2 separate regions of the Homo sapiens genome follow, and region 2 is linked to region 1. Evidence: promoter capture Hi-C in 16 types of primary human blood cells and fetal thymus (Javierre and others, 2016). All regions are on one chromosome and are shown on one strand. The core of a region is centred on a gene start or on the middle of the fragment in contact, and the rest is flanking DNA. Distances in the headings are between cores, read along the strand shown. Region 1 holds the start of ZNF776 (zinc finger protein 776). Region 2 overlaps LOC124904784 (a long non-coding RNA gene).

Region 1 (2,946 bases), core at 311-2,810:
TGCATAATATTCTAATTATGTTTATTACCAACATGCTCATCTCAGCTGATGCAGCTTCCATAGCTACAGCTACTAAGACCAAAAACCTCGGGATCCTGATTGCTCTCTTCATGCCCTTACTTTGTGTATTAGGAAACCTAGATGCTGTAACAAAATATCAACTTTGAATCCAGCCACATCTCCTTAGCCATGAATCTTAGTCTGTTAACCCTCACTTGGATTACGGCAAAAGCCTCAACTCTCATCTTATTTCCTCCTCTCTCAACCCCACAGTCTGTTCTCCACTGTACAGCCAGAGGAGACTACAGCCAGATGAAACTGTGGCAACATCACCTCCTCCCTCTGGTCAGTTTCACCTCTAAGCATTTCACATCCTGGTACTAACTCCTGGGTTAACCTTCCAAGTATGTTTATACTGGTTGACAGAAATGGGAATACCTCCATATATCCTGTGTCACAGACTTTGGATCCTGGGTTTAAGGTTCCTCCAGGGTTCCCATATCAAAAAACTTAAAAAAAAAAAAAAAAAGGTACCTAAGAATCCCAGGACATCCCAATCTAAAGAGCATGTGGATAGGAGTTAGGGCCAGTGAGGGAATAACACCCTCCGCTTCCCTGCGGAGGTTCTGCAAGTGCTTCTGCAGCCAGGAGTTCCTGAGAGGAGAGGCACAAGCTACAAGAATGTATCCCTGATGAGATTTGATAAGCTCAGGCCTCCCTGAACTCTTTCTTGGCCCTGTAACTAGGTAAACGCGAGTTGGTTGTCTGAACTGAGCGCCTCAGTACAAAATGTCATCTCTTAGCACCTATCTGATCTGTAGAGGTTGAACAAGAATTCAACCTCCCAGGGCCCAAAAGTCATCCCCTGTGTTCTTTTTCGACTGGACTTTGGGAAACCTTTAAAGCCTGGACATTGATCTTTTCCTTCCTTTGTTGGAAGCTGTCCATGGCTTCCAGCGTTCTCAGGGTGAATACACGGTCCTCAGCCTGCTCTTCCAGGAGGAGCTCTGCCTCACACTTTGCTCCCGACAGGTGCCTGTGGACCCTAGGTTACGATCCTCTCGGCTCAGTTCATCTCCAGGCCTTTGCCTGCACCGCTCCCTGTGCCTGTAGCTCTCCTGAGCGCATCCCGCGGGTGTCAAAAACGGGGGCCCATAGAGAGCGCCTCAGTGTCCCGACGCCGGGTTCAGGGTGTAAAACCTTGAGCAGGCGCCGCTTCCTCTCTGCTTTTGGACTTAGGTAAAGATGAGGTGACCTGAGGGCACGGAAGACGCCACAATTACCTGAGCCGGGGGCCTCAGCGCGGCCGCCGCCATCCGACTGGGTGGGGAAAGCGGGGTCGAAAGGAGGGGGCGAGCAGTGCAGGTACCCGGGCACGGTGGTCCCGATCCCGGCCTTGGTGCGGGTCACGCCTAGCGCCTTTAAGGAGCTGCAGAGCAGCCTCTGTGCAGTCGGGACAACGTCTCGTCTCCACCTTCTGGGTTCAGTCACTTCTACACGACCCAACACTCCGCGGTCTCTCACTGGAAAATACACCCAACACCAATCAAAATGGCCACTAGTAGAGGACGCCGGAAGTCCCACCTTTATACTGTTTCCGCGGAAACGCCTTTATTTTGAGCCCTCATTGGCTCTGACGCGCTGTCATTCGACGCAGAGATTTCTGGGTTATGTAGTTTCCTCAGGTTCCAAGACAGTTCCAAGGCGGTAAAGAAGGCCTTCTCAGAGGCGCTTGATTGCACAGAGTGGTGAATAAACACTACTCTGGCCTAAGTGTCATCTTCCCTCAATTTGACTATACTTCTGCATGTATCTATTTCATGTCTATTTTCTCCTTGAAAGTCTATATCCCCTGTCAAACTATGCTGTCAGGTATACCCTACCATCACGTTCACTTACTTGCAGGAAAGGCCCAGCTCCATCTCAGCGGCCTGTCCTTAAAGTGCATGTCCTTCTAGGGTAGAGGATAGTCTCACCTAGCCTTAGAACCCGTATTGAGATTTTTGGAGATTAGTGTCTGTAACTGATCACTCAAGTATTTGAAAAAATATTATTTTAGATTTTGGGGAACTCGAGCTCTCCGATGCTAAACTTATTATTTAGGATGCCCCCAAAGACTAAAAATCCAAATTATCATAACGTTTTGAACAGTCTTTCAGTCGCAAAATCCCGGTACTGGCAGCAGAGGCTGATAAACATTATTGTGTTATAAATTCACATGAATGCACTCTGAGGCATTAGAGTCAGTTTCTCAGTCTGTCAGGGACAAGAGAGAACTAATCCAGATAGGACAAGACAAGGAAGATAGAGGAGAAATGTTGTGTTCCCTAAAGCAGGAATACATGCTGAATCTCTGTCTGTGATTCCCACAGAAGACAACTCTCCTGCCTATAAAATCAATCATAGTGTCCAGTACATTGAGCAACACTTTTATCCACTTAGTATCCCTCGCTTGAGATTCCAACTTATATTCAATTAATTCTGGATTAATTTATCTAAGATTTATCAATCTTACAGGAAGACCAATGAAAGAAATGCTATTTTGGTAGTGATAAATGGCTGCAGTTTTCAAAGGTGGGGCACGTATGCAGAAGATGCTCTCCACCTGTTGATATTGGTTGTGTCTTAAATCCAGGAGTTCATGTTATTGCTGGGAAGTGGCTATTTTTTTTTTTTTGTATTAGATAAAACAGACTTTATTTATTTCTTTTCTTTTTTTTTTTTTGTGACTATTCTTTATTTCTGTTTCCATGGCAAGGAGTGTTTTGCCTAATAAATTAATGTTATGGATGGGATTACAGGCATGAGCCACCATACCTGGCTAATTTTGTATTTTTAGTAGAGACGGGGTTTCTCCATGTTGGTCAGGCTGGTCTCGAACTCTCAACCTCAGGTGATCCACCTGTCTCGGCCTCCCAAAGTGCTGGGATTAAAGGCATGAGCCAC
Region 2 (3,258 bases), core at 549-3,048, 420 kb before region 1:
ATCACCAAATTCTGAGCCCACCTTAAACATACATTGAAATGATCCCCTTTTTACTTCCATTGACTCATCCGGTTCCAAGTCATGACACTTCTTGACTGAACTACACAGTAGTGCTTTCATCATCATCTCCTCTTCTGTTCATGACACCATCCCAACACTCAACCAGTGCAACCGTTCAAACATGGAAATCAGGCCAGGTGTGGTGGCTCACCCTTGTAATACCAGCACTTTGGGAGGCCAAGGCAGGAAGATCACTTGAGTTCAGAAGTTCGAGACCAGCCTGGACAACACAGTGAGACCCCCGTCTCTACAAAAAAAGTTTTTTTTTAATTAGCCGGGTGTGGTGGTGTGCACTTATGATTTCGGCTACTTGGAAGGCTGAGGTGGGGGGATTTCTTGAGCCCAGGATTCCAAGGTTGCAGCAAGCTATGATTGCACCACTGCACACCAGCCTGGGTGACACAGCAAGACCCTGTCTCTTTTATTTATTTATTTATTTTTTTTATTATTTTTATTTATATATACTTTAAGTTTTAGGGTACATGTGCACAACGTGCAGGTTAGTTACATATGTACACATGTGCCACGTTGGTGTGCTGCACCCATTAACTTGTCATTTAACATTAGGTATATCTCCTAATGCTATCCCTCCCCCCTCTCCCGACCCTGTCTCTCTTAAAATGTAAACTAGATCATTTAATTCTCTTGCTTAAATTCAACGAGTGACTTCTCATTGCTCTCAAATATTTATGCTTTTTTGTAGAACATCCACATTCACTATGCTGATTGCTACATAAAGGCAGATTCCAAATCTGTTTGCTAATTTCCTTGGCAACAGTACCTAGCATGGCATCACCGTGACTGTTTCTTGGCCAATTGTTTGAGGTGACTTGTATCCCTCACCATTCGACTGTTATGTTGATGACTTCCAAGTCGAGATCACTAACCCTCAGCTTCTGAATTTCCAAAGCCTGTGACTAAATGCCTGCTGGAGATCTTCCCCCACACATCAGGCAGTGCCCTTCTAATGGTGCAAATTAGATCATGTCACTCCCGAGGTTAACTCCACCCCTTCTGGTTTCCTGTCTCCTTCAGGGTGAAGCCCAAACTCCTAATCAAGGTGCACAAGGCCTGGCACATGTCAGCCAGATTTCCCCTGACTCTTCTGCTCTCTCCCCTTGCCCATCCATTCTGTCTTCACTGCCTGCTATTGTTTTTTTTTTTTCCTTGGGGAACGAGTCTCGCTGTCACCCAGGCTGGAGTGCAATGGCGTGATCTTGGCTCACTGCAACCTCCACCTCCTGGGGTCAAGCAATTCTCGTGCCTCAGCCTCCCAGGTGGCTGGGATTACAGGCACGCGCCACCATGCCCAGCTAATTTTTGTATTTTTAGTAGAGATGGGTTTCACCATACTGGCCAGGCGGGTCTCAAACTCCTGACCTCAAGTGATCCGTCGGCCTCGACCTCCCAAAGTGCTGGGATTACAGGCATGAGCCACTCACTGTGCCTGGCTGGTTTCTTGATTGTACCAAATTCTCTCCACCTCAGAGCCTTTGCTAGTGCTCTCCTTCTACCAAAATGCTCTTCCTCAGTATGTTGGCTCCTTCTTTTACTTGAGAAGTCAGATTAACATTGACCTCCTCAGAGAGGCCTTCTTGGACTGTGTAGTGAGCTCAGTAATGGTTTCCAAAAGATGTCCACATCCTCATCCCTAGAACCTCGTGAATGTTACTTCACATGGCAAAAGAATTTTTACAGATGTGAATAAATTAGGAATCTTGAGATACAGAGATTATCCTGGATTATCTGAGTGGGCCCAGTGTATTCACAAGGATACTTAAATGTGGAAGAGGAAGATAGAAGAGTCAGAATCAGAAAACGAGTTTTGATGATGGAAGCAGAGGTTGGAGTGACTCAGGGCCATAGACCTAGCAATGTAAGTGTCCTTTAGAAGCTGGAAAATGGAAGGCATGTATTCTCCACTCATGCCTCCCAAAGGAAAGCCAACCCATTTTGGATTTCTGACCTCCAGAACTATAAGATAATAACTTTATTTTGTTTTAAGCCACTAAATCTGTGGTAATTTGTTACTGCTAGGAGTCAGCAAACTATAGTTTCCAGGTCTGGTCCCGTCTGTTGCCTTTTTGGGGAGGGGATGGCTTATGAACTAAGAGTAGTTTTTATATTTTTTAAAATTCTTTTTTTTGTTGTTTTGGCTGGTCAAACGAAGCAGTGGGAGTGGAGAAGAACAAAGAAATCTGTAACTGGTTGTGATCAATTAATTGTAGTTTTTACATCTTTTAATAATTGAAAATAAAGGAATAATTATATTTTGTGATGTGAAAATTATATGAAATTCAAATTTCAGTGTCCATGAAGTTTTTTGTTTGTTTGTTTGTTTGTTTGAGACGGAGTCTCACTCTGTCACCCAGGCTGGAGTGCAGTGGCACGATCTCAGCTCACTGCAACCTCCACCTCCTGGGTTCACTCCATTCTCCTGCCTCAGCTTCCCGAGTAGCTGGGACTACAGGCGCCCACCACCACGCCTGGCTAATTTTTTGTATTTTTAGTAGAGACAGGGTTTCACCGTGTTAGCCGGGATGGTCTCAATCTCCTGACCTCGTGATCCGCCCACCTTGGCCTCCCAAAGTGCTAGGATTACAGACGTGAGCCACCGCGCCTGGCCCATAAAGTTTTTTTATTTTTATTTTTGTAGGGATGGGGTGTCACTTTGTTGCTCAGGCTGGTCTTGAACTCCTGGGTTTAAGTGATCCTCCCACCTTGGCCCCCAAAAGTGTTGGGATTACAGGTGTGAGCCACCACACTCAACTGTCCATAGGTTTTACTGAAATACAGCTCTGCCCATGTATTATGTATAGTCAATAGCTGCTGTTGTGCTACAACAAGGTTGACAGTTGCAACAGAGACCATATAGTCCCCCAAACCTAAAATATTTACTGTCTGGTCCTTTACAGAAAAAGTTGTCTTCCCTTGTTGTAAGCTGCTATGTTTTTGTTTTTTGTTTTTGTTTTTGTTTTTGTTTTTGAGACGGAGTCTCGCTCTGTCGCCCAGGCTGGAGTGCAGTGGCGTGATCTCGGCTCACTGCAAGCTCCGCCTCCCGGGTTCACGCCATTCTCCTGCCTCAGCCTCTGAGTAGCTGGGACCACAGGCGCCTGTCACCACGCCCGGCTAATTTTTTGTATTTTTAGTAGAGATGGGGTTTCACTATGTTAGCCAGGATGGTCTCAATCTCCTGAC

The links. Contacts are between HindIII fragments. The CHiCAGO score rates a contact against its expected background, and 5 or more counts as called.
Region 2: a fragment that was not itself captured here is called in contact with the fragment with the promoter of ZNF776 in region 1 in 1 of 17 cell types (neutrophils); the score reaches 5.9 in neutrophils.

Annotation. Positions count from the first base shown.
Region 1 is chr19:57,745,429-57,748,374 of GRCh38, reverse strand. It overlaps ZNF776 (zinc finger protein 776), which reads right to left and starts at 1,560. Exons shown (of 3, transcript NM_173632.4): 1 at 1,284-1,560. The coding sequence starts at 1,316. RefSeq lists an enhancer at 1,499-1,548. The HindIII fragment of the contact is 9,325 bases long and covers 1-2,946 here.
Region 2 is chr19:58,160,573-58,163,830 of GRCh38, reverse strand. All of the region lies in intron 1 of LOC124904784 (a long non-coding RNA gene), which reads right to left. Among named protein-coding and RNA genes, the nearest start is that of ZNF329, 11 kb to the right of the region's middle. The HindIII fragment of the contact is 9,989 bases long and covers 1-3,258 here.